2 separate regions of the Homo sapiens genome follow, and region 1 is linked to region 2. The links are contacts of gene promoters, found by promoter capture Hi-C in blood cells and fetal thymus (Javierre and others, 2016). All regions are on one chromosome and are shown on one strand. The core of a region is centred on a gene start or on the middle of the fragment in contact, and the rest is flanking DNA. Distances in the headings are between cores, read along the strand shown.

What was found. The method cuts DNA at HindIII sites, captures the fragments that hold promoters and counts their contacts. A CHiCAGO score of 5 or more calls a contact.
Region 1: the fragment with the promoter of MAST1 here is called in contact with the fragment with the promoter of ZNF564 in region 2 in 2 of 17 cell types (neutrophils and total CD8 T cells); the score reaches 6.3 in neutrophils.

What each region holds. Positions count from the first base shown.
Region 1 is chr19:12,833,045-12,840,406 of GRCh38, reverse strand. It overlaps MAST1 (microtubule associated serine/threonine kinase 1), which reads right to left and starts at 1,892. Exons shown (of 26, transcript NM_014975.3): 1 at 1,752-1,892. The coding sequence starts at 1,834. RTBDN (retbindin) reads left to right here and starts at 5,828. Exons shown (of 6, transcript NM_001270441.2): 1 at 5,828-5,918. It overlaps RTBDN-AS1 (RTBDN antisense RNA 1), which reads right to left. Exons shown (of 3, transcript NR_187779.1): 3 at 7,316-7,362. RefSeq lists silencers at 1,812-1,861, 1,912-2,091, 2,096-2,279 and enhancers at 5,341-5,870, 7,066-7,362. The HindIII fragment of the contact is 9,607 bases long and covers 1-2,941 here.
Region 2 is chr19:12,550,159-12,557,221 of GRCh38, reverse strand. ZNF564 (zinc finger protein 564) reads left to right here and starts at 5,740. Exons shown (of 4, transcript NM_144976.4): 1 at 5,740-5,892. The coding sequence starts at 5,890. LINC02926 (long intergenic non-protein coding RNA 2926) reads right to left here and starts at 5,496. Exons shown (of 2, transcript NR_187485.1): 1 at 4,353-5,496; 2 at 3,578-3,847. RefSeq lists enhancers at 3,688-4,187, 4,188-4,689, 5,473-5,767, 5,833-5,942, 6,601-7,063 and a silencer at 6,173-6,252. The HindIII fragment of the contact is 25,081 bases long and covers 4,733-7,063 here.

The sequences.
Region 1 (7,362 bases), core at 643-3,142, 290 kb before region 2:
AGCCCAGTGAGTTCTTGAGCCCCACCAGCTGACCTCCTGTCTCAGATCCCCGCCTATCTCCCATCCATGTGTGTTTGGAGGCTCCCTGGGAGGGTTTCTCGAAGAAAGGTGGTGCAGGCCTCGGCAGGACTGTGTACGGCAGGGGATGTGCATATGACATGTGTGTGAGAAACTCTCAGTATGGATTATGTGTAGGGCAGTGTCTGTCATGGTGTGATAGTCACTGTGTCTAGGTGACACCATTGGTGATACTGAGCGTGTCTCAGTCTATGCGTGACATTCACTGTAGGTATCCACGTGTGGTATCCACTGTATGAATTCAACAATGTGTGACGCTGAATGCATTCTAGTGTGATACGTGTGACACAACGTGGGTTTATCTTGTGTGATACAATTTGAGCATTTGTGTGTCTATGTGACACAGTGTGAAATGCCACTTGTCCATAACAATGTGTGCTGTAACACAGGCAGGTTGTATTATTATTATTTTTTTTCTTTTAAATCAATGTCTCGCTCTGTCGCCCGGCTGGAGTGCAGTGTGCAGTGGCTCACTGCAGCCTCAAACTCCTGGGCTCAAGCAATCCTCCCGCCTCACCTCACCCTCCTGAGTAGCTGGGACTACAGGTGCCTGCCACCATGCCTGGCCAGGATGCATGATCCCCCCTACATGTATCTATGTCTTTGTGTGGCATTCTGAGTCTGTGTCCGATACTGTCCTTCCGTCTGGGTGTGACATTCACCATGCTTGTCCATGTGTATGTAGCATCTATTGTGTGAATTTAACATCTTGTGACACTGTGTCCAAACATGTCACCACATTTGACATTCTCTAGGTGAGTCTTGCAATGTGATAACATGTGATTTTGCGTGGTTCTGTCTCTGCAAGATCCCTACATCTGTTTATCCTGATGTCAGTGTGACATAGTATGTGAGATACCTAGATATGACATCGTGTGTTGTGACATTCTTGGATGCATGGATGGGATATTGAAACACATGTTTGCATCTTGGATGACATAACTGTGTGTGTGTGGATCGCCATGTAAGTGACATCTTACTAGGTGTACACGACGTGGTGCCCCTGTGTGTCTGTGCATGGTTCTGACCTGTGGCAGCTGCAAGGCTAGGTATGTGTGGCACCTCCCAGTGTATCTGGGCCACTAGGGCTGTTGTGTGTATGTGTGTGACATCATGTCCTGTGTGACGCTGTGTGTCACTATTTTCAGTGTAAGGCTGTGTTCGGGGGGGGGGGTTGTGTTATGATAAACCCCCCCTTTTTTCTACCCCTCAGCATCCAGCTCCCGAAGAGGGAGCCCCAAGCCCCTCCGTCCGTCCCCTCACCCACAGCCGCAGTGACTGAGCATATTAGCGCGTCCAGGAGCACGCGGCATGGGGGTGGGGGGAGGCCAGGCTGCGGCTATTGTTCTGAGGGTGCCAAGCCCCCCAGCCTCCCCTTCTTCCTCTACCCCCACCAGGCTGTTGGAGCCCGCAGCGCCAGCAGACAAAGGCGCCACAAACCCCCAGTGGCGCAGCCCCCTCCCCCCGCGGCCGTCCTCTCCAGCGTGCAAGCCCCCCAGACTCGGCCCACACCACCCCCCATTCAACCCCAACCCCGGCGGGAAGGCGCAGCTGGGGCACCTCTGGCGCAGCTGGACCGGGCGCAGCATCCCGGGCCCCGCCCTGCAGCAGTACCCGGAGCGGCGGCTTTTGCGGGGAGGGCCGGGACAATGTCTAGGGGATCGGGGGTCTACCTCTTGGTGCGGCGGAACATACTGCCGCCGGGGAAGGAGGGCATCGAGAAATTAGAAAGCGCGGTCCAGAGAGAGTCAGACATGACCCGGCGGCGGCGACATGGTGGCAGGTGCGGCAGCAGCGGCGGAGGCGGCGGCGGCGGCGGCGCGGGGAGCAAGCGCGCGGGGCGGAGGCTGCAGCCGCCGCAGCGGGCAGGGGAGGGCAGGGAAGGGGAGGGCCCTGCGGCTGCAGCCGGCCGGGAGGGGGCGCTGCTGCGTGCCGGCGAGCCAGGCCCCGCCCGCGCACTCGCCTGGCGCCCCCACCCCGGCGGGAGAAGGGGCGGCCAGCCCCCGCCACGTCTCTCCCCAGGCTCACCTGCTGCTTTTCCGGGGCAGGGGCAAATCCTTCTGGAAGGCAAAGGGGCAAAACGATGAAGGTCAGCGTGGACCTGCCGTTGCTGCCCACAAGCATTATCAACTCCCTGGAGGAGCAGAAGCAGGGTAAGACAGGCCCCTCTTCAGCACTGTCACTTTCACCCTTGGCCATGCACTGCGGGCCAAGTTTCTTGGGGGAGAGGATCCCTGGGTGATTCCTCTCCTGACCCTCAGAGACCAACAGAGGCCCACGTACACAGGCGGGGCGCCATATAAAGGCAAGTGAGTTGGCATATCAGCGTGTGTTTGTGCAAATGAAATAGGAATCATTATTTGAAAAATATGTCTTGAGCACCTACTGTATGCTGACCCAATCCTAGGCACTAGGGACACAGTAGTGAATAAATTACAAGTCCGGTGTGGTGGTGTGCACCTCTAGTCCCAGCTACTTGGGAGGTTGAGGCAGGAGAATCGCTTGAGTCCAAGGAAACACCAGCGTGGGCAACACAGCAAGACTCTCTGTCTCAAGGAGAAAAAAAAAAAAGTTTCTGGCCTTTTGGGACTAGTATTTATAGGGTAAAGGGGACATTAAACAAGATTAGTGTAGAAGTGAACGAAATCATTTTAGACAATAATTAGTCTTATGAATAAATTAAACAGGGTGATGTGATGGACAATGGCTAGGATGGAGACACATTGTCAGACAGGGCTGCTCTGTGGAGGTGACTTTTAAGCTGGTTGCTGAAAGATAAGAGCCAGCCATGGGAGGATCTGTGGAGAGAGCATTCCAGGTGGAGGGAACTGCAAGGGCAAAGGCCTGGAGGCGGGAATAAGCTTAGCGTACTCAATGAATGAATGAAAGGTTGAATGAATGAAAGGTTGAAAGAATGAATGACTCATCTACACCTCAGCAGATCTATCTGACTCCCAGCTAGAGTCATAGAGTTGGGGTAGGGGGTGGGGGGTAGGTAAGTAGAGTGACTCACAACTGAGATTTAAAATGGGAACCACGGAGGCTGAGGTGGGAGAATCTCTTGAGCTCAGGAGGTCGAGGTTATAGTGAACTATGATTGCACCACTGCTGGAGTAAGACACCCTCTCAATTAACAATAAATAAATAAATAATAAAAAGTTTAAAAAATAAAAAAATAAAAATGGAAATTCAGGTGATGGCCGCATAGTCATTTTTTATAATGACAATAATAATAATTAGTGAGTATTAACTTTATGTGTCTGCATTTGAAGAAGGTCACCTTCCATTTGTCAAGCTCTTAGGAAGTCACTGTAGGGATCAGGAGATATGGGGTCTTGGCTTTTTTCTGAGGAAAGGAATGGGGTACAAGGGGCAACACCTGCCAGCCAGTTTTCTATCCACAGGGTGAGGTGGAAGGAAGGAAACTGAGTGGGGCTGCAGGTGGAAAGATTTGGGGGAGAGTTTCAAAAGGCCTTTGGAGGGGACTCCAACAAAAGGAAAATGAGGGATGTCCTAGACATTTCTAGGATCTCTAAAAGCAAAAAGCCTAGGTTCAAATCTCAATTCTGCTTTTTATGACCTTGGCAAATGACCTTCCAATAGTCCCGTGTCTCCTTGAGGATCTTAGGAGTTGATGCAGATGCCTAGCCCCTTAGCATGGTGCCTAGCACATAGCAAGTGCTCAATAAATACTAAGTCTGGAGAACAGGCGTTATTAAGGAGGGACATGCTGCATGACAGAGGATGGGCCACAGCGTCCTCCCACCCCGTTGTACAACGGACAAACATATAGGCGGGGCCAAAGGGCAGCCCTGCCCTCCCGAGCCACGGGTGACCGATAATCCAAACCAGGTTTTCCCTCTGTCTTTGCATGACCGGAGTGAATGAGGACCAGTCGACCTGGCTGCGTGTCTGCAATGGCCCAAGCGAAATCAAGACCTGGATTTTCTGGCCACAGAGCCCAGGGTGTCCAGATCCGGGTAACCGGCCTTGGAGGGTAAGCCCCTGGAGGGCTTTTAAGCACCACCCGAAGAAGACCTGGAACCCAGCCCCACCCGCTAGCGCCCCCAAACATTCTAGGGACGAAGAAAGGGTCAAACTGGAGCGGCGGAAGTTCGGGTCTTTGGCGTCAGTGTAAACAGACGCCACCTCCAATCTCAGCTGCAGAGCCGCTCGGCCAAGTGGATTCCGCTTCTCCCGCACAGGATTAATAGTTGACACTGCAGACAGGGCATTCGAACTCAGGATGCTGTCTACATATAAGATCCCAGGGCGTGGTGGCTCACGCCTGTAATTCCAGCGCTTTGGGAGGCCGAGGCGGGTGGATCACCTGAGGTCAGAAGTTCAAGACCAGGCTGGCCAACATGGTGAAACCCACTCTCTACTAAAAATACAAAACTAGCCGGGCATGTTGGCATGAGCCTGTAATCCCAGCTACTAGCGAGGCTGAGGCAGAAGAATCTCTTAAACCCGGGAGGCGGAGGTTGCAGTGAGCCGAGATTGCGTCACTGCACTCCAGCCTGGGCAACAGAGCGAGACTCCGTTTCAAAAAAAAAAAAAAAAAAAAGAGCCTAGCTGCACACAGGGGACCCTCGGGCGCTCAGCAGTGATGCGACAGTTCCTAAGAGGATGCACCAACGTATGTGGGTGTATCCAGGCAGCGAAGTGGTTAATCCCGCCAGAAGGGAAGCGGTGGGGACAGGACTCCGACAGGGATCGCCGGACCCAGAGCAAGCCTGGGGTTGAGTGGGTGGGTGGGTGAGTGGAAGCATTCCGCGTTGGGGGCGGTGTCTCGAGCGGGAGTTTAAAGTCCCGCGTGGCGCTGAGCCAATGAGAGTTGACGCCGGCCTGGAGGGCGGGGACACACCGTGCAGGCCCCGCCTCTTTCCTCCCTTTTCTCAGAAACCCGACGGCGCGGACCCAACCTGGCTGCTGCAGTACTTGCTCTAACTTTGCCGCAGCTGCCTCCCTTCTCTCGGAACCCACTCTCCTAACCCACCCCCGAGAGGCGGAGAGAATGTGGGAGCACTTCAGAGAGGCCTAGGCTCCGGAGATCGGGCCATCTGGGCTCTGAAAGCAAATTAGTTTTCCAACTCATGTCTGGCTCCGGCGTTACCCAGACGCCTGGAAGGTCCTTCCTGCAGTCTGATCACCATTTTTCCTGCTGCACTGACCAATCAGCTCCCCTTGGCCTTCAACCTCGGGAATGATGGATTAGGGGAGTCTAGAAATGGACGAAGCCCTAGGTGAGGGTTTGAATCCTCTTTTCCCAAGATTCAGGCTGGGGATGGAGCCTGAGTCTGGGCCCATTCTCGGCTTTATCTAAACTCCAGATTACCAAGCCTGGGGCTGAGCCCCAAGGAGGCTCAGAAGGGCCAGACCCCAGGCAGGGCCTTGGGGCACAGATATCATCACCTTCCCCTCTGGGATGTTTGGGACCGGACCTCCGTATTAACCCTGAACTTCCGTACTAACCCCTCAGAAACGCAGCTGAAGACGAGCAGAGGACGCTTCTCGGCTACAGAATCCCTCCCCACCTTGGAGGTAGGAGCTCCTGACACCTGAGTTTGTCCCCGCCTTCCCCACACTCCACAGCGATCCTCAGTGTCCCACTCCGTGCAGTGGACGCACGGCTCCTGCGCCTGCGCAGCCTCGAGACCAGCATCTTCTAAGGCTGCAAGGAGCTAAAAATCGCTCCCGCCCACCCACAAGCTGGGCTGGACTTGAGGATCGCGGTGGGGGGGCGGATGTTGTAGTGGAGGAGGTGGAATGAAGAGTGAGAAAGCTGTCTAGGTGCCTGTCCAATTAGGGCAGTAGGAAGAATCCTGATGGCCAGGCAGGTGCGTGGGGGACGCAGGGCGTCCTATGCCTCGGGAGGGGGCTCCTGGGGTGGTGAGGGGCGAGGTTGCCGCACAAACATGTTTACGCCTCCAGCGGCGCCGATGGCCCCGAGGGGCATGAGCCCTAGGGCAATAACTTTGCTCTGCGCCCCCTCACCCCTAGCCTGGCGAGGCGCCAGGGCGATGACTTCGGCCCCAGCCCCATCCCCCTAGGGCGGGCCAGGCGCCCCTCAGGCGATCCTCGAGGGGGAGCGCTAGGCTGCACCCCTCCGGCAGCTCCCTGGATCGCCGGGCGGCGCCTGAGGGGCGGGGTCCCCAGCGCGGCGGGACGCGCGGCCACAGCGTTCCCCGCGGTTAGCGTCCCGAACCTATGGGTGGGGGCGTCCCGGCTGACCCTAGTGCAAGTTCTCCCGCCTCCTGCCCAGCCCCGCCCCAGGGCGCCGACCCCTTCCTCTCCACCCGGGGCCCAGGCAGCCGCGTACCTGCAGCCTCCGGCGGCGGATGAGGCCCGAATCGTCCATGGCGGCAGCGGCGGCGACTTCGGCCCGGGGAGGGAGGAGGGAGGTAGCGGCGGCGGGAGGAGGGAGGAGGGAGGGAGTGAGAAGCCGCGGGGACCGCGGCGGCGGCGGCGGCGGCGGCTGAGGGGAGGGGTGGCGGGGGCGGGGGCGGAGCGAAGTGGGGCGGGCCCGGCGCCGTCACTGCGTCTGGGCGCCCGAGCCCGGGCTCAGCCACCGCTGCCCGCGCTGGCGGGGGGAAGGGGCGGGCGGGGGGGCGGAGCCTCCTGGTGCCCCCATGGGAGCCAAGCTGCCGAGAGACCACTATAAAAAGAGACACCCCAGAGGAGAGATATTCTCAGGGGTAGAACCCTCAGTCAAGAAACACCCCAAAGGAAGCCTTCTCCCTGAGATACATTCCCTCTACATTCATCCCCCAGAGACCCCCTTGGTGAGACACATTCCCAGGGGGAGATAGTTTCCACAGGGACGCCCTGTCCAATCAAGAACTCCCCCAACCCTGAAAATCATTCCTAATAGATATGGTCCCTGAGAGGTGACTTTCCTCTCAAAAGCCATCCCCCTCCCCACGAAAGAGGCATTCCCCGAAGAGAAAGATCCCAGGAGTAACAATTCCCGTGTAAAGGATACCCCCAATCAGAGACCCCTAAAAGCCATATCCTCTGTGGGAAACTGTCCCCACCCACGAGACCTCTACAGCCCCAGGAGAGATCTCATGCTTACAGAGAAACATTTTCACTGAGGAGACCCGTCTTCACAGGAGACGCAACCTCAGAAAAACATGTGCATACATATTATGCCCCCCCACCCACCTGCCCCACAATCAGAGCCTCCTCAGGGAACCCTGCAGCCCCTCTAGCGACCCCTCCCTCACGGTCAGGATTAAGGAGCCAGGCCAGGCCGTCTGTATTTATAGGAGCGATTAGCTG
Region 2 (7,063 bases), core at 4,491-6,990:
ATAAACTGCAAACATGTGACAACAGTTATAATTTGAAAGTCTTCCAAATATGAACATTCTGGCCTAGAACCCTTTCTGTCTCCATCAACCCAGTGGGCAAAAATGCTCAAATTTTCAGAAGACAATATTTCATAGGAATTTTATTTTTTATTTTTATTTATTTATTTATTTATTTTTGAGACGGAGTTTCGTTCTTGTTGCCCAGGCTGGAGTGCAATGACAAATGTAGAGTTCGTAAATGAATATATTTTGCATATTTTGTTTTAAAATTCCTAGGAAAGGCCAGGCGCCTTGGCTTGCACCTGTAATCCCAGCAGTTTGGGAGGCTGAGGCCAGCAGATCACCTGAGGTCAGGAGTTTGAGACCAGCCTGGCAAATGTGGTGAAACCCAATTTCTACAAAAATACAAAAAAATTAGTGGGGCGTGGTGGTGGGTGCCTGTAATCCCAGCTGCCTGGGAGGCTGAGGCAGAAGAATCACTTGAACCCGCGACGTGGAGGTTGCAGTGAGCTGACATCCTGCCATTGCACTCCAGCCTGAGCGACAGAGTGAGACTCTGTCTCAAAACAAACAAACAAACAAAACAAACAAACCCGGGAGCGGTTGCTCACGCCTGTAATCCCAGCACTTTGGGAGGCTGAGGCGGGCGGATCACGAGGTCAGGGGGTCGAGAGTAGCCTGACCAACATAGTGAAACCCCGTCTACTAAAAATATAAAAATTAGCCGGGCGTGGTGGTGTGGCCTGTAGTACCAGCTACTTGGGAGGCTGAGGCAGGAGAATCACTTGAACCCGGGAGGCGGAGGTTGCAGTGAGCTAAGATTGCGCTACTGCACTCCAGCCTGGGCAACAGAGAAAGACTCTGTCTCAAACAAATAAAATTAAATAAATAAAAAAAATTTTAGGTTGAGGGAGAAGTTGAGCAGCTTTTTCCTATTATAGACACAGGCCTTCTTCTTCTTTTTTTTTTGAGCTGGAGTTTCACTCTTGTTGCCCAGGCTAGAGTGCAATGGTGCGAGCTCGGCTCACTGCAAGTGATTCTCCTGCCTCAGCCTCCCGAGAAGCTGGGATTACAGGCGTCCGCCACCACGCCCGACTAATTTTTGTATTTTTAGTAGAGACCGGGTTTCACCATGTTGGTCAGGCTGGTCTTGAACTCCCGACCTCAGGTGATCCATCCGCCTTGGCCTCCCAAAGTGCTGTGATTACAGGCGTGAGCCACCACCGTGCCTGGCCTACACAGGCCTTCTATAGACGGTCAGTAAATCTTCCCAAAGGGTGCTGGGGATTTCCCAGGACCACATGTGCCAGGCCATTTTACCATTTCTCTCTTCCACATGAAGGTCTGGTAGAACGAAGGCGAACAGCCGCATGGCCGCTAATCGTTCCACTCGTAGTCAGGGGACTCGTTCACCTTCCAGGCCGGTTAAGGCTATTCTCCGCTATCGTCAGGGCTAGGTAGGTCTCGCCCCACTGGGACAGAGAGGTCCCCCAGGTCCCGGATCTGCGCGGCTTCCTGGTCTAAAGCAAGGCGGCCGAGCCTGTGTCCCTAGACCGCCTCCAGGGCCCTCTGCACCCTGACGCCCCATCGCGACCGCCCCGCTTCCCGCCCGCCGCTCCCGCAGCCACCTGGAGGCGCTGCGTCTCGGCTGGGGCTTCGTCTGTGCCCGGCACAGCGAGGGCCCCGGTGTCTGCGGGGCAGGGGCCGCGGCCTGTCCCGGGACATCCCCGCCCTCCAGCTCACCTGCCTGCTTGGGACTCGGCAAGCCGGCCGCACTCTGCGTCTCACCGCGCTCTCTGTACCATTTTACATTTCCACCACCAAAGTAGGAGTAGGAGTAGGAGTAGAATCCAGTTTCTCTTATGTCCTCCCCAGCACTGGTATAATCCTTCCTTCCTTCCTTCCTTCCTTTCTTTCTTTCTTCCTTCCTTCTTCTTTCTCTTTCTCTCTCTTTCCTTCCCTCCCTTCTTTCTTTCTCTCTCTCTTTTTTTTTTTTTTTTTGAGATGGAGTCTCACTCTGTCACCCAGGCTGGAGTGCAGTGGCACGATCTTGACTCACTGCAACCTCCACCTCCCAGGTTCAAGTGATTCTCGTGCCTCAGCCTCCCGAGTAGCTGGGAGTACAGGCGCCCGCCACCACGCCCAGCTAATTTTTTGTATTTTTAGTAGAGACGGGATTTCGCCATGTTGGCCAGGCTGGTCTCGAACTCCCGAGCTCAGGCAATCCACCCACCCCGGCCTCCCAAAGTGCTGGGATTACAGGCGTGAGCCACCGCACTGCACCCGGCCCTCCCTCTTTCTCTCTTTCTTTTCTCTCCTCTCCTCTCTCTTTCTTTCTTTTTCTTTCTCTCTCTCTCCCCCTCCCTCCCTCCCTCTCTTTCTTTCTTTCTTTCGACAGGGTCTTGCTCTGTCACCCAGGCTGAAGTGCAGTGGCAAGATCTCGGCTCACTGCAACCTCTGCCTGGTGGGTTCAATGATTCTCCTGCCTCAGCCTCCTGAGTAGCTGGGATTACAGGCATGTACCACCACACCATGTGCTGCCACGCCATGTGACGCCACACCTAAAACAGTTTTAAAGAAAGGAGACAAAAAATTATTAGGCTGGGCACAGTGGCTCTTGCCTGTAATCCCATCACTTTGGGAGGCGGAGGCGGGTGGATCTCTTGATGTCAGGAGCTCAGGACCAGTCTGGCCAATATGGTGAAACCCCATCTCTACTAAAAATACAAAAATTAGCCAGGCTTAGTGGCACACACTTGTAATCCCAGCTACTCAGGAGGCTGGGGCAGGAGAATCGCTTGAACCCTAGGAGTCGGAAGTTGCAGTGAGCAACTTGAGATCTCGCCACTGCACTCCAGCCTGGCGACAGAGCAAGACTCCGTCTCAAAATAATAATAATAATACATAAAAAGAAAAATATTTTTTTCTGAGACGGAGTCTCACTCTGTCGGCCAGGCTGCAGTGCAGTAGTGATCTCGGCTCACTGCAACCTCTGCCTCCTGGGTTCAAGTGATTCTCCTGGCTCAGCCTCCCAAGTAGCTGGGACTACAAGTAGCTGGGACTACAGGCACGCGCCACCACGCCCAGCTAATTTTTGTATTTTTAGTAGAGACGGGGGTTTCACCATGTTGGCCAGGAGGGTCTCGATCTCTTGACCTCATGATCCGCCCACCTCAGCCTCCTGAAGTGCTGGGATTATAGGCATGAGCCACCGCGTCCGGCCTTTTTATTTATTTTTCATAGAGATGGGGTCTCGACATCTTTCCCAGGCTGGTCTTGAATTCCTGGGCTCGAGCAATCCTCCCTCCGCAGCCTCCCAAAGTGCTGGGATTACAGGCGTGAACCACTGCATCCAACCCCTGTCCAGATAATTTTTGGCTTCTGTGTAGCATTCCTTTCCCCAGCGTACAGGACAGGACACTCTTTGGAGTGAGAGTCTTATGACCCACGATCACATTAGAGTTCTGCAGTGGACAGGTGAATGGGGGGCAGGAGAAGGTCAGAGAGAGAGAGTTTCTGTTTACTGTAACAAGGACTATGGGAGTTATGAGTCAGGAAGCATGGATGGAAACCAATGTATAAATCATAATAGCATAGCTGATATCTTTGTTTTCTCAAAGGAATCATTACTTGCCAGTTTTAAAATCCATATAAAGTATTTTAGAATTTTTTGTCTTCCAGCTTATACATAACCACAGAAGGAAAGCAGGAACTCTGCTAGTTTCTTAAAAACAAACAAACAGCAAAGGGGATTGAAGGTCTTTTTTCTTACCTAAGTGGATCAGTGTTGGTGAGAAGCAAGTGAATAAACTGCAGTGGGCAGGAGAGCCTGAGACCAGTCTGGAGCCTGCAAAGAGAGGGAAAGGGTGCTTCTTGGGCAGCCTGCCCGCCCTTGCAGGTGGCCTCCAGCTGCTCAGGAGTGCAGATTCTTTTTTTAATTTTAATTTTATTTTTTACTTTTATTATTTTTTTGAGGCAGAGTCTCACTGTTTTGGCACCCAGGCTGGAGTGCAGTGGCGCAGTCTGGGCTTACTGCAACCTCTGCCTCCCGGGTTCAAGCGGTTCTCCTGCCTCAGCCTCCCGAGTGGCTGGGATTACAGGCACGCGCCACCACGCCCGGCTAATTTTTGTATTTTTACTATAGACGAGGTTTCACCATTTGGCCAGGCTGGTCTCGAACTCCTGACCTCAGGTGATCCGCCCGCCTGGGCCTCTCAAAGTGCTGGCGTGAGCCACCGCGCCTGGCCAGGAATGTGGATTCTGAGAAGCTGCAGAGCTGTGAAAAGCAGGAGACCCATGTGCAGATGTGGTTGGGTTGGGGGTGGAGGGTTCTGTCTTTTCTGAGGTTGTACCTTTGGCGCCTGGGGCCATTTCCTGGACAGTGTTTTGGTTTTAGCATTCATGGGGTCGCTGAGTCAGGCTGTAATTTGTATACATGAAGAAAATCTGTGAGGGTCAGACTCAGTGAAAAACTTGTTTGCATTGTCCCCTGGAGAAAAGGTTTGGGAACATGACAATTTATTTAGGTCACGACTTTACATTGACTCCGGGTGAGAGTTTCCTGCTGGTACAAATGAAGGTTTTGAAGGAAAGAGTGTTTCCACACTGTGAGGAGAGGACTGGAGGGCACCTTGAGCTCCCAAAGTTGAATTCTTAAGTGTCCCTGTCTCATCACCAGGTTCTGATCCACACTGGGGTTCCATTTCAGCAGTTAGAGTCTGGGTCCCAAGCTTGGGATTATTTTATTTTATATTTCATTTCTTCATTTCATTATTTCATTTCATTTCATATTTCATTTTTTAGTCTCGCTCTGTCGCCCAGGCTGGAGTGCAATGGCGCTATCTCGGCTCACTGCAACTTCCCCCTCCCAGGTTCAAGCGATTCTCGTACCTCAGCTTCCCGAGTTGCTGGGATTACAGGCACCTGCCACCACGCCTGGCTAATTTTTGTATTTTTAGTAGAGATGGGGTTTCACCATGTTGGTTAGGCTGGTCTTGAACTCCTGACCTTAAGCAATTTTCTCACCTTGGCCTTCCAAAGTTCTGGGATTACAGGCGTGAGCCACCGCGCCCGGCGCTTGGGAATATTTTTAACGTTATGATTGTGGGTTTTCCTTGTGAACTGCGGGTGAAGCAGGCTGCTTGTCTGAGCTAGTTCAAATGTTTGCTTACTTCTCTTGGTTTCTTTATAGATGATCGCTGTCATAAAAACTCCAGTTTTTCCTATACATTTAATACTTTTATTTCTTTGTCCGTTTTAATTTTCTTGCCTGAAAGAAGCAAGCCCTCCTCCCTCCTGTTACACTGTGGTCTGGCCTGGCCTGGGCGCGCCTCCTACTCCGAGGCCAGGGGATGGCTCCACTGGACGCCGAGTCTGTCATTCCCTGTGCACACTTGTGACTCTGTGTCCGGGAGGAAAAGGCAGGAAGGGCACCCTGAGTGCAGAAACACGCCAGTGTCACCTCTGCAGAGCCTGAAACACTTTCTGCTTAAATGCAAATATCCTCCCCGGCACAGAAGGTTACAGAAGGAGGAAGCCCGGCCCGCGAAGGGCAGTGGCCAAGACCCTGTCAATCTGTCTTTACTCAGCCACATACCGCATTGCTTCTCCTGTCACTCAGTACCAAGGGGGCAGGACTTGAATCATCACCCAATCAGGGGCACTGGGGCGGGAACCTGCAAACCATCCAATCAGGAACTCTGCAAGGGGGACAGGGGCAATGTTCAACAACTCCGCGGGGTCTTCCTGTTTCGTGTCCGCTGCGTTTGGGTTCCGGTCTCCGCTTCTCCAGTGGCCCCGGTGGCTCCACCGCAGCGTCTGGCGCGCTGGGACCTGCACAGGCCGGAGAGAGCCGTAGGCAGGACCCCGGGACACCCTGGAAGCCAGGAAATGGTGCGTGTGCGGGGCCGGGCGCCTGGAGACTGGGGGAGGGGCTTGTGGGAACCGGCCGGAACCGGCTGTGGAAGCACCCTGGCCTCCCTGCAGCGACTCCAGGGTCTGGGACCCGAGTTCCCTGGCGCAGCTCGGCCCTCTGTCCCCTCGGCCGCAGGGTGGGTTGGGCCGTAGCCAGTACCCCAGGCGTCCTGTCCCGTCCCTGCGCGGCGACTGCGGCCTCGGCCTCGGAGCCCTGTCTGGGCAGCTCCGCGCCCGCAGCCCCGCCTCTCTCCAGATTGTTTGTACTGGGACACGGGAGGGTCATAAGGCGGAATCCCGTCTCGGGTGTGCGGTTCGTGCATGGGAAGAGCTGTGGGCTGTGGCCTTCCCAGTACATCGTCTTTTTTTCCGGGGGACTGGTCTTCCTCCGAGTCTTCCAAACGTACTGGAAAAAGAATCTCAAACCTACGACTCCCGTTTTTTTTAGCCTAGCTTTTTCTGGGGCTGGAAATAAATGCCTAAATTTCCGGTTCCTTCCCCGCATTCCCAAAGGTGACCTCCCCTCGCCAAATCAACATTATCAGCTGTTTTTTGTTTGACATTTAAGACACAGTATTTTAGTTGTTTATAGTTTCTTTCACCATACTCTTTTGAAAGGATTTGTTTTCTGTTTGTTGTTTTTTTTTTCTTTTCAGACAGAGTTTCGCTCTGTCGCCCAGGCTGGAGTGCAGTGGGAAGATCTCAGCTCACTGCAACCTTCGCCTTCCGGGTTCAAGCAATTCTCCTGCCTCAGCCTCCTGAGTAACTGGGATTACAGGCATGCGCCGCCACGACCGGCTACTTTTTGTATTTTTGGTAGAAACTGGGTTTCTCCATGTTGGCCAGGTTGGTCTCAAACTCCAGACCTCAGGTGATCCGCTCACCTCCGCCTCCCAAAATGCTGGTATTACAGACGTGAGCCACCGCGCCCGGCCTCTTGTTTGTGTACTTGTAACCTGAGAGGGAAACGGAGAATAAGAACCTGACACTCTACGGTAAAATTTTTTTTTTTTTTTGAGACAGAGTTTCGCTCTTATTGCCCAGGCTGGAGTGCAATGGCGCGATCTCAGCTCACTGCAACCTCCACCTCCTGGGTTCAAGCGATTCTCCTGCCTCAGCCTCCCGTGTAACTGGGATTACAGGCATGCGC